Regions from separate parts of the Homo sapiens genome. Here regions 1, 2 and 4 are each linked to region 3. Evidence: promoter capture Hi-C in human tissues and cell types (Jung and others, 2019). All regions are on one chromosome and are shown on one strand. The core of a region is centred on a gene start or on the middle of the fragment in contact, and the rest is flanking DNA. Distances in the headings are between cores, read along the strand shown.

Evidence for each region. Contacts are between HindIII fragments. The study calls those that stand out against the background at their distance.
Region 1: a contact is called between the fragment with the promoter of LINGO3 here and the fragment with the promoter of LMNB2 in region 3, in 5 of the 25 tissues and cell types used here (aorta, dorsolateral prefrontal cortex, small bowel and 2 more).
Region 2: the fragment with the promoter of AMH here is called in contact with the fragment with the promoter of LMNB2 in region 3 in 2 of the 25 tissues and cell types used here (dorsolateral prefrontal cortex and spleen).
Region 4: a contact is called between the fragment with the promoter of OAZ1 here and the fragment with the promoter of LMNB2 in region 3, in 1 of the 25 tissues and cell types used here (dorsolateral prefrontal cortex).

What each region holds. Positions count from the first base shown.
Region 1 is chr19:2,303,954-2,311,040 of GRCh38, reverse strand. It overlaps LINGO3 (leucine rich repeat and Ig domain containing 3), which reads left to right and starts at 2,887. Exons shown (of 2, transcript NM_001101391.3): 1 at 2,887-2,965. LOC101928572 (a long non-coding RNA gene) reads right to left here. Exons shown (of 2, transcript XR_007067088.1): 2 at 6,816-7,087. The HindIII fragment of the contact is 18,961 bases long and covers 1-7,087 here.
Region 2 is chr19:2,243,487-2,250,572 of GRCh38, reverse strand. AMH (anti-Mullerian hormone) reads right to left here and starts at 1,250. Exons shown (of 5, transcript NM_000479.5): 1 at 829-1,250; 2 at 94-236. The coding sequence starts at 1,240. SF3A2 (splicing factor 3a subunit 2) reads right to left here. Exons shown (of 9, transcript NM_007165.5): 2 at 7,029-7,086; 3 at 5,958-6,029; 4 at 5,794-5,840; 5 at 5,018-5,127; 6 at 3,771-3,820; 7 at 3,551-3,691; 8 at 2,911-2,979; 9 at 1,918-2,806. The coding sequence ends at 2,027. RefSeq lists promoters at 1,241-1,272, 1,241-1,450, 1,241-1,520, 1,272-3,306, 1,241-4,239 and enhancers at 1,168-1,307, 3,362-3,863, 3,162-4,239, 4,493-4,993, 6,658-7,086. The HindIII fragment of the contact is 11,600 bases long and covers 1-7,086 here.
Region 3 is chr19:2,453,305-2,460,592 of GRCh38, reverse strand. It overlaps LMNB2 (lamin B2), which reads left to right and starts at 3,634. Exons shown (of 12, transcript NM_032737.4): 1 at 3,634-3,923. The coding sequence starts at 3,660. LINC01775 (long intergenic non-protein coding RNA 1775) reads left to right here. Exons shown (of 2, transcript NR_134931.1): 2 at 1,493-1,656. RefSeq lists silencers at 3,536-3,715, 3,836-4,085, 4,146-4,235, 4,466-4,645 and enhancers at 4,906-5,614, 5,615-6,325, 6,382-6,996, 6,997-7,288. The HindIII fragment of the contact is 70,551 bases long and covers 1-7,288 here.
Region 4 is chr19:2,267,625-2,274,341 of GRCh38, reverse strand. It overlaps OAZ1 (ornithine decarboxylase antizyme 1), which reads right to left and starts at 4,856. Exons shown (of 5, transcript NM_004152.3): 1 at 4,598-4,856; 2 at 2,812-2,957; 3 at 2,388-2,560; 4 at 1,522-1,607; 5 at 854-1,370. The coding sequence starts at 4,743. The coding sequence ends at 1,234. LOC105372240 (a long non-coding RNA gene) reads left to right here and starts at 5,089. Exons shown (of 2, transcript XR_936242.3): 1 at 5,089-5,240; 2 at 5,470-5,849. RefSeq lists enhancers at 96-235, 1,676-1,735, 1,746-1,805, 4,543-5,157 and silencers at 616-865, 1,326-1,475, 3,015-3,354, 3,775-3,834, 4,800-5,289 and 1 more. The HindIII fragment of the contact is 6,913 bases long and covers 3,604-6,717 here.

The DNA.
Region 1 (7,087 bases), core at 1,638-4,137, 150 kb after region 3:
GGCGGGCCGATCATGAGGTCAGGAGATTGACACCATCCTGGCTAACATGGTGAAACCCTGTCTCTACTAAAAATACAAAAAAAAATTAGCCGGGCCTGGTGGCGGGTGCCTGTGGTCCCAGCTACTCGGGAGGCTGAGTCAGGAGAATGGCGTGAACCCGGGCGGTGGGGCTTGCAGTGAGCCGAGATCGCGCCACTGCACTCCAGCCTGGGCAACCGACAGGGTGAGACTCCATCTCAAAAAAAAAAAAAAAAAAGAAGAGAGGGTAGAGCTTGCACTGGACCCATCAGCAAATTACTGGACATCTTAGCAGGCATGTGCCACGCAGGGAGAGATGGAAGGTCGGGGTGGAGACGCGAGTGAAGAGGGGGAAAGGGGCGGGCAGAGGTCTGGGGGAAGGGCGTTCTAGGCAGAGGGAGCAGCCCGTGCTCAGGCCCTGCAGTAGGAGCCTGGCCCAATCTCCACCCCCAAGGGCTCGGGAGCACTGGCCACAAACCGGGCAGAACCACTGCAGAGTCTCTGCAGCCCCGGGAGAAGATGGGAACTGTTCCGATCTCCATTTTGCAGAGGTGGAGACCGAGGCTAGAGGGACATCCCCCACGGTTACACAGGCAGGGCCTCGACTGGACCCCAGCTGGCATCCCTCACCCTCCAGGACTCATAGCAAGTGTCTCCTCCTCCGGGAAGCCTCCCTGGCCCCTGGCTTCGGTCCGGGACCCGGTGTCACTACTGCCTCTTCCACGCCGCTTTGTGACGATTTCATATTTCAGGCATCTGCTCCCTCTGTCCGAAGAAATCCCCCTTGAGGCTGGAAGCGTCTCCTCCTCCTCCCTCCAGCCCTTGGCCTGGTATACAGTAGGTGCTCAATGAACACCTTCCTCCAAGAGCCCTGAGAGCCAGCTATCAGGAGCATCACTTTACAGAGAAAGAAACACGTTCAGAGAGAGAAGGAGACCTCCCCTACTGGGGTCACACAGCACAGCAGCCCAGGGCCATTTGGTGGGGAGAGCATGGGGTGTCATGAAGTCCTTCTGGACCTCTCTGGGGCCAGGAATTGAACCATACCCGCCCCCCACAGCATCCTGTGGGGGGCCTGGCCTGCAGCCTCCCAGGGATGCGGTTTCTGGGCCTCCAGCCAACGCGACAGTCTGGGAACAGAGCCTGCTTGAGTCACAGGTGGCTGCGTGAGTGCCAGGCCACCGCCAAAGCCACTGGGAATACACAGCTGGTGGGGAGGACTGCAGAGTGGGTGAAGGGGGCAGACAGGGCAAGGTTACACACACAGGTTCCCGAGGCCTCCTTCTCACCCCTCACTTGGGACAAATGGCATCTCCCAGCCTTGGTTTGCTCATCTGTGAGACAGGGAGGCTAAATGTGGCTTTTAGAAGATGCAGTGAGGGGCCGGGCATAGTAGCTCACGTCTGTCATCCCAGCACTTTGGGAGGCCGAGGCGGGTGGATCACCTGAGGTCAGGAGTTCGAGACCAGCCTGGCCAACATGGTGAAACTCTATCTCCCCTAAAAATACAAAAATTAGCCAGGCATGGTCATGGGCGCCTGTAATCCCAGCTACTTGGGAGACTGAGACAGGAGAATCGCCTGAACCCGGGAGGTGGAAGTTGCAGTGAGCCAAGATTGCACCACTGCACTCCAGAATGGGTGACGAGAGCAAAACTCCATTTCAAAAAAAAAAAAAAAAAAAAAAGACAAAAAAAAAGGTAAAAAACTTTCCATGAGCACTCGCAGTGCACTTGGTGTGTGCGCTGCTGTGTGCTAGGCGGAAGGCACATTGGGGAACAAGCCCATTAGACAAACTGAGAGGCTCCAAGCTGCTCGATGGAGGGACAGAGAGAAAGGCTGTCCAAGCTGGGCACAGCGAAGATCAAAGGCCTGGGACTGGAGGGACTTGGCCTGTTTGAGGAAGGCTGAGGGGGTGGAGCCCGGGAAAGAGTGAGTGAGGACAGGCCAGGGGGAAGGAGGTGGTGCGGCAGACCAAACAGTGCAGGCAGCCGGGCGGTGGCTCACACCTGTCATCCCAGCACTTTGGGAGGCCGAGGTGGGTGGATCACCCGAGGTCAGGGGTTTGAGACCAGCCTGGCCAACATGCTGAAAATCCGTCTCTAATAAAAATACAAAAATTAGCCGGGCGTGGTGGCGGGTGCCTGTAATCCCAGCTACTTGGGAGGCTGAGGCAGGAGAATCGCTTGAACCCAGGAGGCGGAGGTTGCAGTGAGCCAAGATGGCACCGCTGTACTCCAGCCTGGGCAACAGAGCAAGACTCCATCTCAAAAAAAAAAAGAAAGAAAGAAAGAAAGAAAGAACGAAAGAAAGAGAAATTCCAGGGTAGGTGGGGTGCAGACGGGACCCTCACGGCAATAGGGAATCACGGCAGGTTCTGGAGCCCAGTGGCTAAGCTTCCTCTGAGGGGCTTCCTCTGAGGGCCACATAAGGAATGGGCCTGGGCTGGGCTGTGGCAGATGTCCAGGTGCAGATGGTGGCGGCCTGGACTAGGGGTGGGGGACGGGGGGCAGAGGAGGCGATGGTAGCTTCCAGAAGGTTCCACACGGAACAACCTGCTGCACTTGGGGTGCCCCTGCGTTTATTGCACGGCACGGCCGTCTCCGCAGGCTCACCCAGGCCGTGGGGACAGGAGGTCCTCGGACACGAAGCGCCCGGGATGCGCACGGAGGGGTTCTGCACCCGCGCTCCCAGTGTCCCCGCACCTGCGCCCACGTGGCCTCTCACACCTGCGGCCCCAGCCGCCGCGCACGCGGCCCAGCGCAGCCCCCGCGCGCCCCCGCCAGGCGCGCCGAGGAGACCGGCGGGCGGTTGCGCGCGGCGGCGGCGCGCACGGCGGAGCCCGGGAGGCGGCGGCGGCGGCGGCGGCGGCGGCGGCGGCTGCTCGTGTCGGCTCCGGGCGGCCCCCGCGCCGCAGCCCGCGCCGTGTCCGCGGCGGAGCCGCCCAGGTGAGTGGCCGTGCCGGGGCCCGGCGTGGGGCGCGCCCGCAGACCTGGGGACCCCTCACCTGCACCCTGCGACCCTGCCGCCCAAAGCCCCCAACCCGCGACCCCATCCTCAGCCGGGGGAAATTGCCCCGCGCACCCCTCCCGGGCTCATCGCTCCTTGCCAGGCCCCCGACGCTCCCCCTGGAAACTTTGGGGGCGAACTCCCCACCCTGGGGCCCCCCGCCCCTCCTCTGGGGCGCCAAGGAGCGGGGAATCGGGTGGGCATCTCCCCGGGGCACTGGGGACGCTGGGAGGATGCGCTCCTCTCCAGGAGGAGATGAAGGGGGCACTGGTTGGGTCTGGGGTGTGGGGAACGTCCGAATAGAGCCTGCAGCCCGCGCCTTCCTGCCCTGTCTCCCCCGAGCCGGGTCTGGTCCAGCCTGGGGGTGCGGAGCTGGAAGACGCAAAGGGTATCTGGGGTCCACACCGGAGCCTGCTCCATCGCTGGAGCTGACGGCCCGGCCTGGCGGGGAGGGACCTGGGGGCATAGGGCTGAGTCCCCCTGCTCTGGGGGCGTCTGAATAGCACCAGAAATGGTGGGCCTGGGCACCCTGAGTGGGTGCCGCCACCTCCCGGGCCTCTGGGGCCTGGCCAGGGGAGGCCCTGAGTCCCATTCAACAAGTTTAGGGGAGCAGCACCTCGTGCCTTGGTCCGGGCACAAGAAAAGCCCCGGGTCCTTACGCTGGAGACCACCATGTAACTGGGTTTCTCAACGTGTGCTTGGGGCGCTAACGGTGCCGGTGTCCCGGCCCCCCCAGTTCTGAGGAGTCAGAACTTCTGAGGCGATGTGCCCCAGAAGCTGCATTTTAGCAAGCGGTCCCTGGCTAAACCATGGACGCAGCGAGGCTGCAGACACCCTTGCTCCGGCGGGGGTGGGGAGCGGGCGTCTGCTGTGCAGTGGTATTTGCAGAGGGACGATCTGGGGCTTGGCTGGGGGGAGCCTTCAGGGACAACAGAGCTGTGAGAACCAGAGCAACCCAGGAGGGCTCCCTGGAAGTGGCCTGGAGAGGATGCAGAAGGTGTGAGGTGTGAGTGGTCAGGTGGAGGACGCAGGCTGGAAACAGGTTCAGGGAGGGTGGTGCTGGCTTTATCAGGAGGCTGGTGTGGGGTGGGCTGCCGCGGCATGGCCTTACCCTGGCTGTTCTCTGAGCCGAAGCAGCAGCCATCGTCGGAGACAGGATCTGAGTGGGAAGAACCCACGGGCTTCCCCTGTAGACCCAGCTCCTGTCCCCATCTCGATGATGTGGGGTGGCAGGAAGGGGGCAGCCGGGCGGTGGGATGGGGGCTTAGGAGGGTTCAACTCAGCCTTCCCTGCCCTGCCTGTCTGGTCTTCACCGGTGACTTCCGGCAAATGACGTCCCCTCTCTCAGATCCACCCCACATGGGATTAAATGAGATGCTGCCCACCTCGGCTGCAGTGTGGTGCCACCATAAAACAGATGCTCAGGTCACGATGGTTACGGCAGCAGCCCTGCCTGGCCTCCCTCAGCCTCAGCCGTCCACCCCCAGGGTAAGCCGGGACCTGAAGGTGCCTTGCTGAGTGGGAATAGAAGGCAGTTTGATGTCTCTTCCCACAGCACTGTCATTCCCCGGCGCCCCCTGAGTCACTACCTCGTCACCAGGTAGAGCCTCTTGAAGAACTCTGCGAGCAAAGTTGGCCCCGGGTGGGCCCCATCAAGCCGCCCACCACCACATGTCAATCTCGGGCCTCCAAAGAGCGCCCTTCACCCTCTAGTGGGGAGCTGGGATTTTGTGGGTAGGAGCTGGCGTCAGATCCAGGTTCAAATGCTGACTGTCTGCAGCTAAGTTGTGCAGTGAGCTGGGGCCCACTCTGACCCTCAGTCTCCTTCTCTCCAAAACGAACTTTATTATTCCCCCTAGTCAGGGCTGGGCTAGTGGGTGAAGTGGCCGGTGTAGACAGTGGGTGCTCCAAAACTGGTTCCAGATCCAGAGGCCCTGCCTGCAGAGGGCAGTCCACGGCCCCCCGTGTACAGGCTGGGAAGGAAAGTGGGTCGGGAGGCCCCCAGCCCCTCGAGGGGTTGACGGGGACTAACAGCAGATGGAAGCTAATTAGGGCTTAATGAATTGTCATGGATGAAGCCCCGGGAGGGCCTGGATCTAGGGCAGAGGATGCAGGGGTCCTGGGGGACTGGCAGCGTGTCCCCAAAAGCAGACCTTGGAGGGCCACGTGCTGTGAGGGGCTGGGCCCCCTCCTCCCATATCCGTCTTAGAAGCTCAAACGGGGCATCCAGAGCACACTCCCCTTACTCCCACCGCCCTGGTTGTGGTGGGGGGCAGAGGGAGGGAGATGGAGGTCACTGTGGGCCTGGAAACAGAGGGGACCGCTACCACACTTCTCACTCCTGCCCCCTCTGGGTTTGGCCGGCCTCTAGGAGGGCCTTTCCCAAGGGAGATGTCAGCATCCCTTGCCCTGGGCGGGGACTGGAGGGGGATGTGTTTGAGGTAACCTTGCAAGAGGGAGGGGAAGAGCCCTGCTCAGAATAGAGGAGGCGGATTGGAAGGGCCGGGGGCTTAGCCAGGAGCTGAGGGAAGGAGCTGCCCACACCACCAGGCACCAAGAGGGTAGGGCCACCTCTGTTCTAGGGAGGGACCCCGGCCACTCACAGCCACACTCTGCCTTCTCCTTGAGCTAAGAGCTTCCAGGACCATTAATCCAGGATCCATATCTAAGGACAGCTGGGGGTACAGGGAAGAGAGGCCTCCATTGCCCAGGTCCTGCTGTGGGGGACAGTTTTGGGGAGGGGGTCCTCAAGGCCGGTGCCTGCACCGTGGTTGGTGCAGATCTCAGACCCCAAGGAGAGGTCAATGTCCCCTGCCTTCCACGCCCCAGAAGGCAGGTGCACAGATCCGGGAGGCCTCGAGCGACCTCCCTCTTCAAGACTGCAATGACCCTGATGAGTTCTGGCTGCTGTGACAGCAGTGGCTGGGAACCACACACATTTATTATTGCACCGTTCTGGAGGCCAGAGTCCAAAATGGGCCTCACTGGCGTAAAACCAGGGCATGAGGCTGGGTGTGGTGGCTCACGCTTGTAGTCTGAGCATTTTGGAAGGCCGAGGCAGGCAGATCACTGGAGATCAGGAGTTCGAGACCAGCCTGGCCAACATGGTGAAACCCCATCTCTACTGAAAATACAAAAAATTAGCCGGACGTGGTGGCTCATGCCTGTAGTTCCAGCTTCTCAGGAGGCTGAGACAGGAGAATCACTTGAACCTGGGAGGCAGAGGTTGCAGTGAGCCAAGATCGCACCAGCCTGGGTGACAGAGCGAGACTCTGTCTCAAAAAAAAAAAAAAAAAAAAAAAAAGCAGGACATGGCCAAGGCTGGGCCCTCCTGCTGCGCATTCCAGGTGAAAATCCGGTTCCCATCTTTCCCATTGCCCAGAGGCACCCGCATCCCTTGGCTCAGGGCCCCACCCTATCCCTTCATAGCCTCAGCACAGCCTCTTCCAGTCTCTGACTTTCACCCTCCCGCCTCCTCTCGTGAGGACCCTGTGAGATGTTGGGCCTCTGGATGATCCGGAATGATCTCCTGATCTCACAATTCTTACTTAATCCCATCTGCAGAGGCCCTTTTTCCATGTAAGGGTGGCCTTATCTGCAGTTCCGGGGATTAGAACCGGCTGGCTGTGGGGAGGCCTTCATTCTGCCAACCCCATTCTGCCAACCCCAGGCCCCCCTTCCCTGTTTATTTTTTCCCATACCATGGCCTGCCATGTGACAGTCGGCTTTACTTGTTTCTTCTGTTTCTTGCCCATAGACAGAAAGCAGGGATTTGTCTGTTTTGTTCACTGCTGTTTCTCTTAAAACCAGTGCCTGGCACACAGGCATTGTTTTTAAGTGCTTGTTGAATGAATGAATGAATGCTTGTTGAATGAATGTTTGTTGAATGAATGAATGAGGTGAACACATGGCCAGGAGCAAACCAGGGCCTAGGACTCTGGGCTCCTGACCCCAGCCGGCACCCAATGGAGACTTCCCCGGAAGGAACCTCCTTGCCTGACTTCTCACTCGCTCAGCCCAGGGAAGTGACTGGGAACCCTGCAGTTCCCTTTTGCAGAAGA
Region 2 (7,086 bases), core at 1-2,500, 210 kb after region 3:
CTGGTTCTACGCTGTTCTCAGTACTGCAGACCCTGCAACAAATCCATGCCCCCCGCCACGGCCCGGGCACTGCCCCATGCAACTCCCTGGTACCTGGGCACCCGGCAGCCCAGCCCTCGTCACAGTGACCTCAGGGCCAGGCCCAGGGTACAGCACCAGCAGCGCCAGCTCTGGGGGGCCAGCTCCTCCAGGCGGGGGCTCCTGGAACCTCAGCGAGGGTGTTGGCTCCCAGGTCACTGCAGCCGGGACAGCAGGGGACGCCTGAGCCATTGAAGGCCACACCCCCCGGGAATCTTTGGGATCTGTCCCTGCCGCTCTGGCCACTGTGCAGGGGACCTCAAGCGGGGGACAAGGGTGCCCCTCTTAGCTGCCTTCCTGCAGCCAGGGAGCGGTGACGGCAGGGGCAGGCAGGGGCTGCGTCTGAGGCTGTGGGTGGGGCTGCCGCCCTGGGGTCTCTGGGTTGGGGTGCCCGATGAAGCCCCTTCCCCGCAGGGAGTATCTTAGGCCAGCGGCCCTGAGAACAGGCTGGGGCTGTGGGAAGAAGGGTTCCACTGGCCCCGAGCCCTGCGTCGTCTTCAGGGGTGGGGAGAAGGCAGCAGCTCTCTCCCTGGCACCGAGGCAGGGGCAAGTCTAAGAGCTGGGCTTCGGGGACAGGACAGAGTGTGGTGCCCACCTTCCAGGCCACGGACCCGCAACCCAGTCCTAGGAACAAGACCACAGCCTCCCTGCCCAGGGTGGGGGCTCTGCCAGCCCCTGATCTTCCCTAGGAGGACCCGGCCCACCTGAAGGAAGACGGCGGTGCCAAGCTTGGGGCTGGGCCCCACATACCTTCCTCCAGGTGTAGGACCACCAGGCGCTGCCCCCCAGGGTCCCGCAGCCAGGCCCCCAGCCGCCGTAGAGAGGGCAAGGCAGCCTGCCTGTCACCGGTGTTGCAGACCCCGAAGGTGGCCAGGTCTCGGGGGCCCCAGCGGGCCCTCTGCACGGCCCCCAGGAAGGCCTGCTCATAGGCGCTTAGAGCCCCCACCACCCGCAGGGGGGAGCTGCTGCCATTGCTGTCCCCGCCCAGTGCCACCAGGCACAGAGGCTCTTGTGGGCTGCCTGGAGGCCAGTCCAAGTCTTCTCGGAAGATGAGGCCACTGGTGCCCACAGCTGGCTCCTCTGCTCTGAGGGCCTCAGTCCCCAGCAGAGCCCCCAGGGCAGACAGCACTAGGGCCAGGCTGGTGAGAGGCAGGTCCCGCATCGTGGGTGCTGCCAGGGGCTGGGCTGCCTGCCTTAAGTGAGCCGAGTGGAAGGTGGGGTGTTTGTGCAGGACAGACCCCTATCTCCTCTGCCGCGACCTTGGGGGACAGTGCCCGGCGCCCCCACTCCAGGCAGAGTGGCCTTCTCAAAGAGCCCTTTCTGTCCCTGGCAGCCTATCTCCCTCCCCAGTGATAGAGCTGGGCCTGATGTGTCAACATGCCGTCCTTGAGGGCCATCCCCAGAAGACACAGGAGTGGGAACCAGGCTGGGAGTGACGGCCAGGCAACCAAACTAGACAGCGCTGGGGGCGGGGGGCCCAGATGTCCTGGGTGCTGAGGTGTGGGCCTGGAGGAGGAGGGTCCCAAGTCAGTGGGGGCGCCCTGTCCCTGCTCACCCTCCCCACCCCTGGTGGGCTATCTGGAGACCCCAAGGATATCGTGGAGTCTGCTCTTCCCTCCCCAGAACAGGACCCCAGATCCCCTCCTAGCTGGCTGGTGGGGTCTGTCCTCCACCAGGCCATCTCCAAGGTACAGCCATCTCTCAGGCCTCCCACAGGTGTCTCCTGGCGGGCCCCAGGCCCTCCCCAGTCGGCCCAAACTGGGGGATGGTGCTGTGCCTGGCACTCCCACACACACTGACACAGTAGGGCGGCGCTGCGGACATCAGTGCACTCAGGGCTGGGGGAGGCTGTTTAATGAGCGGGGGGCAGTACAAAAGAGCAGCCTTCTCTCAGTGGGAAAAGGCAAGAGCACCTGGCGCTGGGCTTGCTGGGGGAGGGAGCAGCTTCTCAGTTGGTTGGGGGAGGGGGAGGTATGTTCCCTGGGCCTTCGGAGGGAAGTGGGGGCCTCAGCATTGGGGGCATGGGAGTTGGGGGGTGCACCCCAGGATTTGAGGGGTGAACTCCCGGAGGCTGAGGGTGGACCCCAGGAGCCGACGGATGGACCCCGGGAGGTTGGGGGTGGACCCCCGGGGCCTGAGGGTGCATCCCTGGGGCTGGTGGGTGCACCCCTGGGGCCTGAGGGTGAACGGCGGGGGCTGCTGGGTGCACCCCCGGGGCCTGGGGGTGAACCCCCGCTGATGGGGGAGGATGGACCCCTGGGGCTGGTGGGTGAACCCCAGGGGCTGGTGGGTGGACTCCGGGGGCTGGTGGGTGAACCCCGGGGGCTGGAGGGTGGACTCCAGGAGCTGGGGGGTGGACCCCAGAGGTTGGTGGGTGGACCCCAGGGGCTGGGGGATGGACGCCAGGAGCTGGGGGGTGGACGCCAGGAGCTGGGGGATGGACCCCAGATGCAGGGGGATGCACCACTGGGGCCGGGGGGTGGACCCCTGGAGCTGGCGGGGGTAGCTGGGGTGGTCCCGGGGGCCCTGAGGGCGCAGGCCCTGTGGGGGGCATGGGTGGCAGAGGCAGGCCTCCTGGCGGGGGCGGTGGCAAAGACTCAGGCAGCGGTGGCCGAGGGGGCAGACCGTTCATCAGCGGGGGTGGAGGCCGCTTCACCCCAGGGGGGCCAGCAGGGAGGCTGGGTGGAGCCGGGGGCTTCTCCATCTTAAAGTGGAACTGGAGGAAGAACTAGAGAGACGGAGAAAGGTTCAGCAGGCACGGGTGGGGCTAGGGCAGGGCTAGGGCCGCCAGGGCTGGGTGGGAAGGAGCCAGGCTCGGGGCGAGCCACTCACCTGCTTGGTCTCCCGGTTCCAGTGTGTCCAGAACTTGCCCTCCGCCTTGTCGATCTCTCTGCTCGGCACCTGGGAGGGCGGGGGACAGAGAGGGCTCCTGGTCCCTGTGACCTCAGGGCGACCATCAGGCAGGGAGCCCGAGGCACTAGCCTCCCCAGCCCGGACTCTACCCTGGGAGCCCAGGAGAAGGCTGGTAAGACTTTCGTGGGGCACAGGGTTCAGTTCTGGAGTGAAACAGACCTGGCCTCAATGCTAGCACGCTGTTGGCCCCCTCCCTGGGCAGTCACCGTTTGTATTATTTGTTTCCTGATGGCCGCCCTGTCCAGGCATGGGGACAGGCTGTAGGAAGCCCTCCAGCAGCCTGGCCCAGGAAGTGAGGTCACTTGGCAAAGGCCTCACAGGCCTGGCGCTCAGCCCTGCCGGCCTCCCTTCTCATTGGCCCAGTGGAGCCCAAGCAGGCCCTCCTGCAGAGCCCAATGGGAGAGGTGCCCTGCCCGGCCTGTGCAGACCCTTCTGGCTCCGACTTGGGGGGGGCCCAGGGGACCCCAAGCCCGATGGGAGGGGCATCCTGCCCAGCCTATGCAGATCCTTCTGGCTTGCACATCTCAAGGGGGCCCAGGGAACCCCGCAGCCACGCTACCTTGAAGGCAATGGTCTCGTAGGGCTCGGCGGCCATGAGCAGGTACTGCCAGCGCCGGTCCGGAGGCTCGATCCTCTGCTCGTACGCAGACATGAAGCGGTGACGTGGCATGATGCCCTCGGCGATCTCAGGGTAGTCAATCTGCAGGGACACGGCCGGGTGGCAGAGCCGCCTCTTGGGTGCCTTTGGCCGCCCCCCACGCCCAAGTCCCTGATCTCACCTGGAAGAGGAGGCTCTGCTGGCCCATCTCCGAGTCTCTCTGCTTGGTCACTGCAACACAGAAAGCTCTCAGGTCCCGGCTGCTTGTCCTCTCCGAAGCTGAGGAACCTGGGGCAGGCTAATGCCACCCACTGAACGAGAGCGGGACCCCGGGGGAGGCCCTGCAGCTCTGGCAACCATTAGACAATCTCCGCCCAGGCTCTGGGATTCTGGTATAGGTGAAGGCACAGGTGCGCCAGAGCTGAGCTACCTGCGGAGTCACTCAGGCAGGGACCGAGGATGGTGCTCCTTTGTCCCAATCCCCAGAGCCCTTCACCAGGGGTGCTGGGATACCACCCAGCAGGAGTTGGGGCCACTGGGTAGGGAGGGGCCCTCGGCACCCTGGCTCTGGGATTCGAGCGGGGCCGCCTGAACAGGGCTGACACCATGTATACGGTGAGCGAGAGAGGATGCCCTTCCCGCCAGAGCTCAGCAGCCTGGACCCCGAGAATGGCTGCTGGGCTGCCTGCCGCCCGGCCACTCTCCATGCGGCCTCAGACACGCACACTCACAAGCCCTCTGCCGCCTCACCGTCCTGAGCCCAAGCCCAGGACCTGTCAGGGCCTCCCCACCAGGAGCCTGCCGCTCTAGCCACCCTCGCCCACCCGGTGCACCTGCCCCGGGACCTCTGCCCTGCAGGCTTCTGTCTGGAGGCCAGGCACACAGGCTGTCCCCGCCTTCTGTAAAGAACACTTGCTGGGTAGCGTGCCCGCCTTCCTGAACCCTATGGACACAAGTCTCTATCTTCCACCCTGGTCACTTCCCCAGCTTTCTGAACCGGGGTCACCTCTAGCCATTCCCACTGCTGAGGGTCCGGGAGGAGCTGCCTCTAACAGCCGCTTCTCCCTGTCCTCCTTCAAAGGCTTCAAGGTTAACCGGAGGGATGTGCCAGGGCTCACCACACCTCCACTTCCACTCTTTTGCTTGGCAAGAATTCCCAGAAGCTTCCACAAGACCCGGACAGGAGGGCACAGACTGTGGCTCAGCTGGGAAATGGGCTGCTGGGTGAGATGGGTGCTTATCGGGCCCAGCCTGACAGCTCCCAGACACAACGCCAGAGGCTGCAGGTGGGTGAGGGACGGCCACCAAGGCCGGAAAACAGTGGCTCAGGGAGGAGGCTATCAGGGCTGCACCTCCCGCACTGGAGACTAAAGAACACACTTATGTCACGGCAGCGGCTGTGGCCGGCCCCGCTGCGGGCAGACTCACCTTTGTAGCCCGGGCGGCCGATCTTCACAAACTTCTTCACCTCCACCTTGACCTTCTCAGGCGCGGGCTGGGCAGGGGCCTCCTTGGCCTCCTTGGCTGCTCGCCGGGCCCTGCGGACAGGATGGAGGTGCTGCTGGGACCCCTCCACACACAGGCACCAAAGCCATGGGCCCAGGTGCCAGGAGCCCCCTGACCTTGGAGCTCACTACAAGCTGAGAGATGAGGAGGGCCAGGGGCCTGGGAGGGGCCCTGGGGTTTGGCTGAGGACAGGGATAGGACAGGCATGTTCTCTTCCTGTCATGCTCCTCACTGTCCCTGGCTGGGGCCCTTCCAACAACTCCATGCCTCTGCTCTTTTTTTTTTTTTTTAATAAGACAAGAGTCTCACTCTGTCGCCCAGGATGGAGTACAGTGGCAGCACCTTGGTTCACTGCAATCTCTGCCTCCCAGATTCAAGATTCTCCTGCCTCAGCCTCCATAGTAGCTGTGATTACAGACGTGTGCCACCATGCCTGGCCTAATTTTTGTATTTTTAGTAGAGATGGAGTTTCACAATGTTGGCCAGGCTGGTCTCGAACTCCTGACCTCAAGTGATCTGCCCGCCTCAGCCATCCATGCCTCTGTTCTCTAATGCTCCCCAGGAACCGTACTCAAGCGCCCAGGGAGGCTCAGGCCAGGCTGGCTCCCCGGCTGTGGAGCAGTGGCCCGCGAGGCTCACAGAGACTTGAGCCAACGGCTGCTGGAGCACCAGGCATCAAAGGGACATGAGGTACTCACAGGTTGGTCTGGTGCTTCTTCCCCTGCGTATGTGCCAGGTAGCTCCCCTGGAGTGGAAAGGAAACACGCATGACTCGAGGCCGGGCGGACAGACACAGGCAGGTCCCCCTGACGTCAGCCACTCAGCCCGCCGCGAGCCGCCCGGAGCCAGGCAGAGGCCGCACCTCATTGTTGTGAAGTGTCAGGCAGAGTTTGCATTCATAGGAGCCCAGGTGGTTCTTCATGAAGTACGGGTCCTGGAGGGGAAGAACAGGGGCCCGTTAGACAGAAGATCGCGGCCTGCTGCCGTCAAGGCCCTCAGAGGCGGGATCCCCTTTCTGTAGAGGCATGGAGGCAGAACCCCCCTTCTGTAGAGGCATGGCTACCGCTGACAGTGGTCAAGCATTTCTGAAAACGGGGGATCCAGCGGGAGGCCTTCGTGAGCACGGGTGTCACCACCTGGGGCTGTGGGCCAGGCTTCGAGCAGTGGGGGTTCCCAGGGAGCCCCCGACACCACCTTCCTGGTGGTTCTGAGTCAGAGGGAGGCACAGCCAGGACAGCACCGCCGGTCACTCCCGAGGCAGGGAGCCGTCCACTGCCCACGCCACCACGCCAGCAGTAGGCACAAGGCAGACACAGGCACAAGAAAAGCAAATGGGCTACACTGAAGACCCAAAGACCCGCCCATCTGCAGGCCCTAAGCTGGGGCAGCCGGGCGCACACATCTCGTCTCAGACGCTGGAGTTCAAAGTCTAACTCCACCATCTGCGGCTGTGGCACCCCCTCTACCCATGACCTCATCTGGAAGACGGGGACGGTAACAGAGCCCTTGCCATAGGCCAGGCCCGTGGGGCATGTCAGGGTACACAAAGAGTGCTCCAGCCCCGATGTCCACGGTGCTGAGGGGACTCGGCTCACCCCTGCCTCTGCACAAGCTAAAATCAAAGGCTGCCCTTCACCACATCTGGCTGGACTGACATCAGCTCTCCCCACTCCCAGAAAATTAAATAATGCAAAACAGAAGGCTGTGGACAGAACAAAACATGTCCACATGGGACTCAGAGCCACAGAGGGTCTGCTCTCTGGGGTGGACAGATGGGAGCTGTGGCTGCTCGGGGGCAACAGGGGAGCGTCTGGACACGGGGCTGCATCGCCCAGCCTGGGCGGAGGCCCAAGAAGAGCCTCTGGCACCCTCTCCAGGGCTGCCCTGGAAAGCCCAGCACCCACCACAGGCAGCTGCACGGTGGCTGGCCCACCTTGTTGATGTCGATGGTCTCCAGGGCCAGCTGCCGGAGGCGCTCCCTGCGGTCACGG
Region 3 (7,288 bases), core at 2,385-4,884:
GTTGCAGTGAGCCAAGATTGGGCCACTGCACTCCAGCCTGGGGGACAGAAAGACTCTGTCTCCAAAAAAAAAAAAAAAAAAAAAACTGTAGAGTATTGTAGAGTTGGGTCTTGCTATGTTGCCCAGGCTGGTCTCAAACTCCTGGGCTCAAGCCATTTTCTTGTCTCAGCCTCCCAGAGTGGCTGGGATTGCAGGTGTGAGCCACCATGCCAGGCTTCCTGCCTGGGTTCTAAGGCTGGGGGTCTATCTGGTAAGAGGGGAATAATAGCGAGTGAATGTTGGCTGTTGGAGGCAGGTGGGCTCTTTCCCCTGGTGTCCTCAGTAGGCTGGAAAGGGCATTAGATTCTCAGTGTGTGATTTACTGGGGTCTCTGGCAGAGGCTGAGCCAAACCCCCAAGGTGAGATGTGTAAAAAGGAGGAGTTCCCCAGGCAGAAGGAAGACCGGGCCAGTTCTAGGTCAGGAGGAAGTTATTCTCCAATTGGGGCAATTTTGCCCCTCTGGTGACATGTGGCAATCTCTGGAGACATACTTGGTTTTCATAACTAGGGGGCCGGGGTCGGACGCGGTGGCTGACGCCTGTAATCCCAGCAACGTGGGAGGCCAAGGCGGGCAGATCATTTGAGGTCAGGAGTTCAAGACCAGCCTGGCCAACATGGCAAAACCCTGTCTCTACTAAAAATACAGAAACTTAGCCGGGCATGGTGGCAAGTGCCTGTAATCCCAGCTACTCGGGAGAGTGAGGCAGGAGAATCGCTGGAACCCGGGAGGCGGAGGTTGCAATGAGCCGAGATCACGCCACTGCACTGCAGCCTGGGCCACAGAGCGAGACCCGCCTCAACTAAAAATAAAAATAAAATAAAAAATAAGTATGAGGCTGGGATGCTCGTGGCATGGAGTGGGTGGAGACCGAGGATGCTGCTCAATACCCTGTAATGGACAGCACCTCCTGACTCCAACCCCCTGCAACAGAGAGTGATCTGGCCCCAAATATCTAGTGCAGAGTTGGAGAAACACTGCTGTATAGGTTGTCTTGTTAAATTACAATTTTGGGGGGTTTTTTTTGGAGACGGAGTCTTGCTCTGTCGCCCAGGCTGGAGTGCAGTGGTGTGATCTCAGCTCACTGCAACCTTTGCCTCCTGGGTTCAAGCGATTCTCGTGCCTCAGCCTCCCAAGTAGCTGGGATTACAGGCGTACACCACCACGCCTGGCTAATTTTTGTACTTTTTGGAGAGACAGGTTTTTGCCATTTTGGCCAGGCTGGTCTCGAACTCCTGGCCTCAGGTGGTCTGCCCGCCTCGGCCTCCCAAAGTGCTGAGATTACAGGCATGAGCCACCGCGCCTGGCCTTGTTAAATAAAATGTATGGCAGGCCATTGTTTTAGACAATGGGGTCTCTAGTCCCCAGCAGACCAGATAAAATTGGAATGGAGTCACTAGTGCCAGGTACCACGTAGTCAAACTGATCTTTTATTTTTTTTATTTTTTGAAATAGGGTCTCGCTCCGTTGCCCACACTGGAGTGCAGTGGCGCAATCATGGCTGACTGCAGACTTGAACTCCTGGATGCAAGCCATTCTCCTGCCTCAGCCTCCCGAGGAGCTGGGACTACAGGTGTGTGCCAGCACATGTGGCTAATTATTAAAAATTTTTTTGGCTGGGTGCCGTGGCTCACGCCTGTAACTGCAGCACTTTGGGAGGTCGAGGTGGGTGGATCACGAGGTCAGGAGTTCAGGACCAGCCTGGCCAAGATGGTGAAACCAGGTCTCTACTAAAAATACAAACATTAGCTGGGCATGGTGGCGGGTGCCTGTAATCCCAGCTACTCGGGAGGCAGAGAATTGCTTGAACCCAGGAGGTGGAGGTTGCAGTGAGCCGAGATCATGCCATTGCACTCCAGCCTGGGTGACAAGAGCAAGACTCTGTCTCCAAAAAAAAAAAATTTTTTTTTTTGGAGACAGAGTCTCACTATGTTGCCCAGGATGTTCTCAAACTCCTAGGCTTAAGCGATCTCCCCATCTCAGCCTCCCAAAGTGCTGAGATTACAGGTGAGAGCCACCCGTACCTGGCCTCAAACTGAACTTTAAAGGGTGCAGGTTTTCAAAAAAAAACATTCACAGCCACCAAGCCAAAGGGGACCGGTTAACCTGATAGGGAAGTACCCTCAAAATAGAGGGGGTTAAAACAGACCCTATGAAAAAAGTAACTTTGAAACAACCAATTGGTTTTTATTTCGTATTTTTATTTTTACTTTTTTTGAGACAAACTCTCACTCTGTCACCCAGGCTGGAATGCAGTGATGTGATCAGGGCTCACTGCAACCTTGACCTCTCTTGCTCAAACAATCCTGCCACCTTAGCCTCCCAAATACCTAGGACTATAGGCGCCCAGCTAATTTTTTTTTTTTTTTTTTTTTGAGGTGGAGTCTTACTCTGTTGCCTAGGCTGGAGTGCAGTGGTTCAATCTTGGCTCCCTGCAACCTCCGCCTCCCGGGTTAAAGCAATTCTCCTGCCTCAGCTTCCCGAGTAGCTGAGACTACAGGCATGTGCCACCATGCCTGGCTAATTTTTGTATTTTTAGTAGAGACGGGATTTCACCATATTGGTCAGGCTGGTCTCGAACTCCTGACCTCATGATCTGCCCGGCTTGGCCTCCTAAAGTGCTGGGAATACAGGTGTGAGCCACTGCACCTGGCTAATTTTTTTATTTTTATTTTTAGAAATGGGGTCTTGCTATGTTGCCCAGGCCAGTCTCAAACTCCTGGGCTCAGGCTATCCTCCCACCTCCGCCTCCCAAAGTGCTGGCATTACAGGCGTGAGCAAACCACTGTACCTGGCCTGGCTTTTATTTTAATTCTTATTTCTCCTTTCTTCAGCCTTTTCTGCCTGTAATGCAGAATGCCCATCCTCTCTGCTCAGCTCATTGGAGTGCCTATTTAATAGATTGAATGCTATCCAATTCATGAATTGCTAATAAGAGCCAATGAGATCATTAAACTCAATTTGTTGAAATTCATACTCCTTGACAGCCTCTTCTGGACATTTTATATCAGTGGCATTGTACACTATATGGCTTTTTTTTTTTTTTTTTTTTTTTTTTGAGACAAAGTTTCTCATTGTTGCCCAGGCTGGAGTGCAGTGCCGCGATCTTGGCTTACTGCAACCTCCACGTCCCAAGTTCAAGAGATTCTCCTGCCTCAGCCTCCCAAGTAGCTGGGATTACCGGCGCGCGCCTCCGTAGTAGAGATGGTGTGGGGGGGTCTCCCTATGTGGTCCAGGCTGATCTCGAAATTCTTTTCTCAAGTGATCCACCGGCCTTGGCCTCCCAAAGTGCTGGGATTACAGGCGTGAGCCACCACGCCCGGCCCTATATGGCCTTTTGTGTCTGGTTCTTTGAACACGTTTTGAGGTTCTCTAAGTGGGGAAACAGGTACTAGAAAGCAACCCAACGCTGTTTCCTCGTGGCGGAGCTGGGAGTTTGCAGCCAGGAAGTCTGTCTCTGGAGTCAGCGCCTCTGCGAAGCGAGAGCTGGACGGAGACTTCAACTTCCGGCGTGCCCCGCGCGCGCCCGGCGGTCGGACTACCAGTCCCAGGCTGCCCCGCCGCGGCGGGCGGCGGGCGCGGCGCGGCGCGGCGCCATCTTGCAGCCGGCGGCGCGGATTGAATGAGCCCGCCGAGCCCGGGCCGCCGTCGGGAGCAGCGCAGGCCGCGAGCCGCCGCCACCATGGCCACGCCGCTGCCCGGCCGCGCGGGCGGGCCCGCCACGCCGCTGTCGCCCACGCGCCTGTCGCGGCTGCAGGAGAAGGAGGAGCTGCGCGAGCTCAACGACCGCCTGGCGCACTACATCGACCGCGTCCGCGCGCTGGAGCTGGAGAACGACCGGCTCCTGCTCAAGATCTCAGAGAAGGAGGAGGTGACCACGCGCGAGGTGGGCGCCGGGGCTTAGGGGCCGGGCGGGGGTGCAGCCGGCAGGCCCCGCCCACCGCGGGGCGCGCGATCGCGGGGACCCTGGGCGGGGGTGCAGACGGGGACGGGCCCCGGCTTCGGGGGTTTCCGCGGGGTTTCGGGGGGCCCCTGAGTGAGGGGTGCAGCTCGGCCAGGTCCCTCCCACCGCGGGGTGGGCAATCGCTGGGACCCTGGGTGCAGACAGGGACGGGCCCGGGTCTCGAGGGTCTCCAGGGGGTTTCGAGGGGCCCCTGAGTGAGCGGTGCAGTTCGGCCAGGCCCCGCCCACCGCGGGGTGCGTGATCGCGGGGACCCTGGGCGGGGGTGCAGACGGGGACAGGCTCCGGCTCGGGGGTCTCCAGGAGGTTTGGGGGCTTCTGAGTGAGGGGTGCTGCTCGGCTAGGCCCAGCCCACTGCGGGGCTCCCAGTCGCGGGGAACCCTGAGCTGGGATGCAGACGGGGACAGTCCGGCCTCGGGGATCTCCGCCGCGTTTCGGAGAGTCCCTGAGTGAAAGGTGCTACTCGGCCAGGCCCCGCCCACCACGGGGCGCGCGATCGCGGGGGACTCTGAACGACTCCCGGCTTGGGGTCTCCAGGGGGTTTGCGGGGGGCTCCTGGATGAAGGGTGCAGGTCCTGGCCACCGCGGGGTGCGCGATCGCGGGGACCCTGGGCAGGGGTGCAGACCGGGAAGGGTCCCGGCTTGGGGGTCTCCAGGGGGTTTCAAGGGGTCCCTGAGTGAGGGGTGCAGCTCGGCCAGGCCCAGCCCACCGCGGAGTACGCGATCACGGGGGACCCTGAGCAGGGGTGGGGTCAGCCTGGCCTCGGGGATCTCCAGGGGGAGACCCTGAGTGAGGGGTGCCACCTGGGCAGGCCCTGCCCACCGCAGTTTCCGAGATCTTGGGGGACCCCTTGGGAGGGGTGCAGACCGGAGTGGCCCATTCTCTTGGGGACCTCCAGGGGGTTTCTAGGGCACTGAGTGAAAAGTGCAGACCAGGAATGCCCCACCTATGGAGGGGGTCCCAGGAGATCTTCCGTGTCCTGAGTGAGGGCTGCAGAGGGGCCTCCAGCTAGCTCTGGGGACCCTTCCGTGAGAGGTGCATTTTGGGGCCATGGGGGTTACAGACTAGGGCTCCCCACCAAAGAGAGGTCCTGGGGATTTGGGGGCTCCCTGAGTATTGGGCTGCAGCCCCCCATATGCCTCGTCCCTCAGAGGATTCCAAGGAGACTTGGCGGACCCCCCCCAACTGAGGGGGTGTGAGTGGGAGTCTCTGGGGATGAAGCTGGGTATTGGGGTATCTGGGGTGGAATGGGGGTGGTCTCTGGGCTCCAAGGAGACTGGGGGGCCCAGGCCCTCTGAGGAGGCCCAAGATGGGGTGTGTGGGGGGTCTCCCTGGAGTCTCTGGGGTGAGTCACGTGGTCTCAGTTCTCCCTGGAGCTTTAGCGAGTTCCCTGATGAATCCAGAAGAGATTGGTGACTGGGGTGGGAATTAGGCCCCTCATCTCTCACCAGGCCCAGGGTGGGTAGGGGGCCGAGGGAGAGGTTCTGATACCTTGGGGTCCCACGGGAAATTTGGGAGTCCCTTATTTGTGCCCTGGTGTCAGCGGTGGTCTGGCAGGTTCTGCCCCCAAGAGAATATGAAGGAAGGGTGAGAGTTGGGATCTTGGGTCCGGTGGAAAGTGTTGAGGTTCTGAATGGGCCCCGAGGCTTCAGTGCAGACTGAAGGAGAAGAGGCGGGAAAGTCTGCCCACCAAGGGGACATGAGGTCGGGGTGTCTTGGGGTCTGGGTGCAATCTGTCCTGCCCCCCAACCTAACCCTGGGGAGGCTCTTTGTCCCTCCCACTGGCCATGCCCAATCCAAGGACAGGACTCCAGAACGGGGGGCAGGCAGGAGCACCCACTTGATTCCTGCCATGGGTTGGGGTCCTGGGGTCCCTAGGCCCCAGTGTCCTGTTGGGAGAGCTGGGTGCCGAAGTCGGGATTTGCAGCGCCCAGTCCCCACTCGCCCATCTGGAGATCAGAGGACGTGGTGGGCTTCTGGGAGAAGAGCTGCTTGTTGAGGGGGTCGGGTCATTTCTGGGAGCCACTTACCCTCTGTGTGACCTTGGGCTAGTCGCTTACCCTCTCTGGGTCTCAGTGCCCTCGCCTTTGGAATGGGTGTAATTATAATACCCACCTCTTACTTGTGTGTGGGGCCACAGCAGGTTAACTTTTGTTCAGTAGCTCCCTGTGGGTTGTTTTCACAGTGCCCTGGGGACAGGGAACCTGAAAGAATGTAGCTGGTGCCTTCAGGGAGGTAGAAGGAAGATCAGTGCTTGGTGGGATCCCCTGCTTTTCTTTCTTTTTTTTTTTTTTTTTTTTTGAGATAGAGTCTCGCTCCGTCGTCCAGGCTGGAGTGCAGTGGCGCGATCTTAGCTCCCCGCACCCTCTGCCTCCCGGGTTCAAGTGATTCTCCTGCCCCCGTCTCCCGAGTAGCTGGGATTACAGGTGTTCACCACCATGCCCGGCTCATTTTTGTATTTTTAGTAGAGACAGAGTTTGGCCTTGTTGGTCAGGCTGGTCTCAAACTCCTGGCCTCAGGTGATCTGCCTGCCTCGGCCTCCCAAAGTACTGGGATTACAGGTGTGAGCCGCCGTGCCTGGCCAGTCCCCTGCTTTTCAATTAGTGTGGCTTTGGGCAGGCCCCTGTGTCTCTTGGAGCCTCCATCTTGCCATCTGTCCAGTGCGGAGTTGTCCCAACTTAGAGGCCGCCTGCTGGACCCGTGGCGTGCAGGGTTAGAGCTGGTTTCTTGTCTTTGGGCCTCTGTTATCCCACCTGCCAATGGGACGAACAGCTGCAGGGAGCTTTGAGGGTGCAGGGCCTGGTGAGTGCTGGGGAGGTACCAGCCCCAGCCCCACTGGACGCCCCATTGGACCGGCCCTGTGCCCTAGAGGGAGCCTGGCCCAGCCACCTCTCGGGGCCGCAGCAGCATCCTTTACAACTCAGTTCACTCAGGCTGGGTGAAATGCGGGTCTGACTCCAGTGAAGGCAGCCATTTAGCAGGTGACACACTGGCCCCTCCGTGAGCCCTGTCACCCAGCCGTGTCTGCAGGGCATGTGGCAGGGGACAGCTGGGAGTTCCGCCTGCGACTAGTGGGCCAGGAACCCGGCTAGTGGGGAGCAGAGTTGGAAGCCTGCTGGGGTGGGGGCCGCTGGTGGGGGGACGTCATGTGGGCCCACATGGAGGGAGTGACCTGGAATAGCTGGGGGCCTTCTAGACACAGGTGGGCCACGTGGGGTTCAGAGAGCAGCCTCAGGCTCAGGCTGGCAGGATGGGGGCAGGGGAGGGAGCTCTGAACGAGGAGGGACCT
Region 4 (6,717 bases), core at 3,607-6,106, 190 kb after region 3:
AGATATGAGGTCCCTCTCCAGCTCAAACACCTCCCATGGCTCCCCAGTGCCTCAGAATACATACAGGGCTCTTCCAAAGTCTCCTCAGAGTCTCCAACCCCATGTCGTTCATCCCTGGAGGTTACTTTCCAGCCTCCACGCCTTTGCCCAAGTTGTTTTTTACACCAGAAAACAGCCCCCTCTACTCTGCTTCATACTCCTATTCATCCTGCATGGCCTCAGCTCTAATGCCCCTTCTCTGCATTTGCGCTGCCCAAATGAGCTGGGGGTATCTGTGTCCAGGTTTGTCCTCCCGGCCGACCCCACCACCGCTCAGACGGCTGAATATCCCCCCGGCCCGCTCGCCAAGTCTACAATCTTTTCGAGTTCCTCCTTTCCTCCTCTTTCCAGCCGGTTTCCCGGCCAGGCCTGGCCCTGATTTTCCGGGTGGCGCTCCCGGATGCGGCCGGCAGGTGGCGCTGCGGCCGGGCAGACGGCGGGGTTGCAGACCCGGAAGCGCTCCAGGCCACGACCCCGCCGGAAGTGCTGCTGCCCCGAACGGCGCTGCAGGTCCCTAGGGGCGGCCAGTAACACGGCGAACTCAAAAGTTGAGTTGGGAGCACAGACATCCCCATGCGCAGGCCCAGGCTGGGGCGGAAGGGGACGCGAGGCAGGAAGGGGCTTCAAGCGAGCAGTGGCAAGGCTGGCGCCAAGCTGAGGGCCCGGCCTCCCAGCCCAGGGGGTCTCCTCCGTGGGAGGGGTCCCGCAGCTGCCTGGGTGCCAAATCCCCCGCGACCCCTCCACCCAGGGCCCTCTGTGGTCCCAGGCACTCCTCCCACCAGTCCCCAGCGTCACCACCACAGAGCCAGGTGCATCGGGTGTAATCACTTTATTGGCTTTTGGAGAGCAATGGAGGGGATTAATACCTCATCTTTCCAAGTTAAAAGACTAAGACTGTTTCCAAAAGACTCCAAATAAGAAACTTCTCCTCAAAGTACAAGGATAATCTGAATCATCTTAAACCAGCAATAAAAAAGTAAAATATAAATTTTTATTTAGAATTAAAGCAAATACTTCAGTATCACAAACACAATATTAAACTTCAAGAAATACACCGCTAATTCGGAGTGAGCGTTTATTTGCACGATTACAACATGCGGACAAACCCAGGCGAGATGAGCGAGTCTACGGTTCCTACCCACCCGGCTGACAAGGGGTGGCCCCAGGGGCCGGATGCCCAGCCCCGAGGCGGCCCTACTCCTCCTCCTCTCCCGAAGACTCTCTCTCGAACGTGTAGGCCATGAAGCAAGCGTCGGGTCTCTTGGGGACAAGGGGATGCCCCGGTCTCACAATCTCAAAGCCCAAAAAGCTGAAGGTTCGGAGCAAGGCGGCTGCGGGGGAGAAGCCGTCAGAACCCCTGCCGACCAGAACCCCCCGCCCGCACCCCCCACCCCCGCAGGGAGACCGTGCCTGCGGGCTGAGAATGAAGGGGCGGCGCAGGCACCCCCACGCACCCTACTGCAGGCGATACGGGTCACCTACCTCTGTCCTCGCGGTTCTTGTGGAAGCAAATGAAGACATGGTCGGCTCGCAGCTGCTCCTCAGCGAACTCCAGGAGAACTGCAAAGCTGCAGCGAGTGTCAGCGTCTCGGCTGGCCCGACCCACCTGCCTACCTCCTGGGCCTTAGCAGCTACCCTGAGGCCCGCTCTACTCCAGGGTCCCCCTGGGGCCCAGATCGTCCTCTGGGTGGGGCCGTCCTGACACCACAGTGTTGAGCAGCACCGCTGCACCCACCCACGTGCATGCCCCATGACAGAAAAGCTCTGACACTGCCTGGCATCCCTTGGAGGGTAGAATCCCAGGGTACGAATTTGGAGTGCACTTTTTAAAAAGGGACCCCAGGCCGGGAGCGGTAGCTCACGCCTGTAATCCCAGCACTTTGGGAGGCCGAGGTGGGCGGATCACGAGGTCAGGAGTTCAAGACCAGCCTGGCCAACATAGCGAAACCTCGTCTCTACTAAAAACACAAAAATTAGCTGGGCATCGGTGGCGGGCGCCTGTAAGCCCAGCTACTCGGGAGGCTGAGGCAGGAGAATCGCTTGAACCCGGAAGGCAGAGGTTGCAGTGAGCCAAGATCATGCCACTGCACTCCAGCCTGGGCAACAAAAGCAAGACTCCATCTCAAAAAAAAAAAAAAGGGGGGACCCTGTCCCCACCAACAAAGCGATGGTGGCCCCCATATGTGCTGCCTGAAGGCAGTGCCCTCCCTCATCTGTCCCTGCACCCCTTGGGCAGCAACCCGCACCTGGTCCCTGCTCCCCTGGGTGAGCACTCCCCGCCTGTCCTTGCCCCTCACCTGGTCCCTGCTCCCCTGGGTGAGCACTCCCTGCCTGTCCTTGCCCCTCACCTGTCCTTGCTCCCCTCGGGCAGCGCGCCGCCCGGGATCTCGATGTAGAGGCTGCCGCCACTCAGCACTGTTCGCCAGTTAATGCGTTTGGCGTCTGTGAGCCTGGACTGGACGTTGAGAATCCTCGTCTTGTCGTTGGACGTTAGTTCCTCTGTTACATTCAGCCGATCATCCTGTCCAGGGGGTGCAGCCCAATTCAGAACCCTGACTCACCCCACAGGACTCCAAGAACCCGGCAGCGCTAAAGCTTGGGCCTAGGCCGTGTTGAGCTCAGGCAACGCCTGGGCTGCAGGAGACTGTGCGCCGGCTCTGATGAAACTCAGGGTTCCCACGATTACATTCAATCACAGGTACGGGCAGCAAGGTGCACAAGAAAGTACCTGTGGCCCCAGAGCAGCCCCAGCAGGCCCGGCCCCATACTCACGGAGTAGAATAAGTTAGCTGAAAGATTGTGATCCCTCTGACTATTCCCTCGCCCACCTGGGATCTTCAGGGGTGGGTGAGGGGCATCAGGAGCACCACCGAGGCCCCGGACCCGGGTTACTACAGCAGTGGAGGGAGACCCTGGAACTGAAGATGATGCAGGTCACGAGGCAGCGCCAGGCTCCGGGCGGAGACCCCTCCAGGGCGTCCGGGCGGCCTTCAGCACATCCCCACCCCTGCCTCGGCCAAAAGACCCCGCCCCGCCCAGGCAGGGGCCCACCCGGTCCCACACCCCCGAGGCTTCCCGAAGGCAGCTCCAACGCCTGCCCCAAGCACCTACAAGGGCAGCAGTCACTGAGCCCCGACTCCTCGGGCGGCGCCGCCCAGGACAGCCCAACCTTCCCAGGGCGGGGGGCCCCTTCCCCTCACGCAGCCCCGCCGGGGCAGAGCCTCACCCCCCGGCCACCAAGACAGCCAGCGCTTCCCCTTTTCAGTTCTGTCGCGGCTTCCCCTTTCCACCCTGCACTACGGCCAAAATCTGGGACTCTTGCTTGTCCCCGCGAAGACCGGGCGGGCCTAGCCTGACCTCATGGAGGACGCGCCCCGCTCCGGCTCCCGGCCGCCCGCCCCCCCGCCCCCGCTCCAGGCCCGGGCCCTCCCGGTTGCGTCATCCAGGCAGACGCGGCCTCGCGCCCCGGGGGAGATTTTCACAATCGCGCAGCCGGCAGCGCCAGCAGCCATTTGCTGCGCAGGGTAAACAGGCCCCAAAGTTGCCTCCATTTTGCACGGCCCCCAAACCGCGGCACCGCCAGCACCGCGGCCCAACCTCCCGATCCGGGGCTGAGCGACGCCCACCTCGGGGGACGCAGTCGGGAAAGCTCGACCGAGACCCCGCGGGCTCCCCCACAACCGCAGCTGGCACCCGCGCCCCCGGAAGCGGGACGCGTCTTCCCGGGAAGCGGCGGGGGTCTTCCCAGGGCGCTGCCGGGCTGTCGGAGTGCGCCACCCCCAGCTCCCCGGCGGCCCCCGCGGAGAAGCCCTGGGTGCCGTCTACGTGCGCGGCCTCGCCCGGCGCGTCCCGGGCCATCCAGACCGACTCGCTCAGGGGCGAAAAACGGGGCCCACGAGGTCCGTCGCGTGCAGGGGCCACATCGAGGCAACAGGGACCCGCGGGAGCTCGTCCACCGCAAAGCGCTCCCCGCTCCCGCAGCGCACGCTCGACGGCCGGGACCGAAAAGTGCAGATTCACCAGCCCCGCGGGCCCTGCCTGTCCGCGGACCAGCCCCCCAAGGCCGACCCCGCCCCCAACCAGATTGCCCCATCCTGCGCCTCCCAAATCCGACCCGACCGCACACCCTTCCTCCAAACCGAATTCCCAGTCTGCGCCCCGCAAATCCAACCCTCGACCAGAAGCCTCTCCCCTCCTCCGAAGCCGAGTCCCATCCCGCGAACCCCGCAAAAGACACACGCCTCCCCCGACTCCCCGTCCTGCGCCCAAATCCGACCTCCGACCCATGCCCCTCCCGCAAATCAGGCGCCCCGGACGGTGCCCCCCAAATCCAACTCCGCACCCTTGCCCCCCAAACCCGACTCCCCCGAGAGCACTGCTAAGGCCGGGGGGGACCTCCAGGCCCGCCCTGCGCCTACCTCGTCCCCGGCGCGATTCTGGCCTTGACAAAGGGGCGGATCTCGCGCGCCGGGGACCTATCTGGCGCCCCGAGGACGGCCCCCCGCAGGCCTGCGCGGCCGGCGCTTCTGGAAGCTTCGGACGGGGGCGGGGCACTTACCTCTCACTGCTGCTGCCGCCGCGGCTGTGCAGGCTTAGGAGCGGCATGGTGCGGCTGGCGTGGATGGTGGCGCTGGGTTTATCCCCTTCCTTCTCTCTGGCGAAGCAGTGGCTATTGAGGATCCGCTGCAGGGAGGATTTCACCATCCGGCCGCTGGGGTCCGAAACCAGGAAAACCTCCGCTGCGTCTCTCCGCGCCGCCGCCGCTGCTCGCCGTTCGCAAAATGGCGCCTCTGCCGCCGCCCGCCTTTATAGATGCTGCGCCCAGGCCACGCCCCCCGCGCCGCCGGGAACGCGACCGCACGAGGGGCAGAGCCGCGGGGCCGCCGGGAAAAAAAGTCGCGCCCGCCCCTCCCAGCGCCTGATTGGTGAAAGGGAAAGGGAAAGGAAGAGGCTCTCTGGAGATTGGTTGGTGAGCCTCGGGCCACGCCCCCTCCTGCGCGCGTCCTTCTGGGGGCGGGGCTGCCGTGGCGCCGGGTACGCGCTGCGCGCGCCCCGAGCCGTCCCCGCCCCCACAATCGTGCCTTGGGGGCGGGGGCGGCTCGCTGGGGCCGATTTTCGGGGGTCTTCGAGTGCCCGTTTGTCTGTCGTGGTCCACGTCGCCCTCCCTAGGGTCCCTTCACGCAGCGGGACCCCTCCCCTGGGTAGGCCCCCGGGTGCTTGGGGGGTTGTCCAACCGCGCCAGAATTATTTCCAGTAACACCTGGTAATCATCGATGATATTACTGGTTTTATTTTTTTAAATTTGGTCTTGCAGTTCTTAAAATGCTTCCAGTGTTTAAAAAAAAAGAACTTCCAATGTTAAAGATATTCAAATTTAGTAAAATATTTCGTGTACAATTTGGACTTAAGCAAAAATTTTACTCCTTGCAGATAAATTCAGATTTTTCCTGTGGAAACTGAAACTTACCCTAAGGAAAAACACTACTCCTGGCAGTTAAAATTCAGAAACACATCTCATGTATGAACTAAAATGTGGATCTCCCAAGGAAAAAACGATTTCTTTGGTGGTCAAGTTCGGTAAACTGTTTCGCCTGTGAGGTAAAATGTGGACTTACCTAGCAAAAATATTTCCCCTCCTGGTTAAATCCAGAAAAAAAATCTCAGGTATGAACTGCACTTTGCTTTTAATAAGCAAAGATATAACTCTTGGCAGTCACATACGGGTACATAGCTTGTGTGTAGACTAAATTATGAATTTAGCAAAAAGTTGCCACTTTGCAGTGAGGTTTAATAAAATATTTTTTATTTCATGTATAAACAAAATTTTGTTCTTACCAAGCAAAAATGCTACTCCTGGCAAATCCTGATTCCTTTCATGGTTTTAATTTTGTTTTGTTTGCGACCGGGCCTGGCTGTCACCCAGGCTGGAGTGCAGTGGCGCAATCTCGGCTCGCTGCAACCTCCGCCTCCCAGGTTCAAGCGATTCTCCTGCTTCAGCCTCCTGAGGAGCTGGGATTACAGGTGCCCGCCACCACGCCCGGCTAATTTTTGTATTTTTAGTAGAGATGGGGTTTCACCATGTTGGCAAGGCTGGTCTGGAACTCCTGACCTCAGGTGATCCGCCTGCCTCGACCTCCCAAAGTTTGGGGATTAACAGGCGTGAGCCACCGCGCCTGCCTGTCTTTCGAGATTTCGTACTGCACCAGAAGGCTGTTGTTGCATCTCTGCTACGAGCATTCGCTATTCAGGTGTTGAGGCAGAAATTAACTCCTGCGGTTGACATTTGGGGCCGCCCTGGGCACTGCAGGGCGCTGAGCAGCGTCCCTGGCCTCCACCCACTCCATGCCTTGAGCACCCCCAGTTGTGACAACCACAAGTATCCGCAGACATCACCCAGTGTCCCTTGGCGGGGGCAGAATCACCCTGGGTGAGACTCCCGAGTTAGGGGATTCCACGGACCCCCCCAAGAGACTCTGCATCCCATGATCCTCTGCCCTGCTGAGGTCCCAGGAGACTGCGCACGTTGAAATCCACACCTTGAGGCAGAGGTTGCAGTGAGCTGAGATGGCGCCGCTGCACTCCAGCCTGGTGACAGAGCGAGACTCTGTCACAAAAAAAACAAAAAAAAAGCAATCCACACCCTGAGTGGGGAAGGAGAGAGGAGAAGCATCCCAGGAG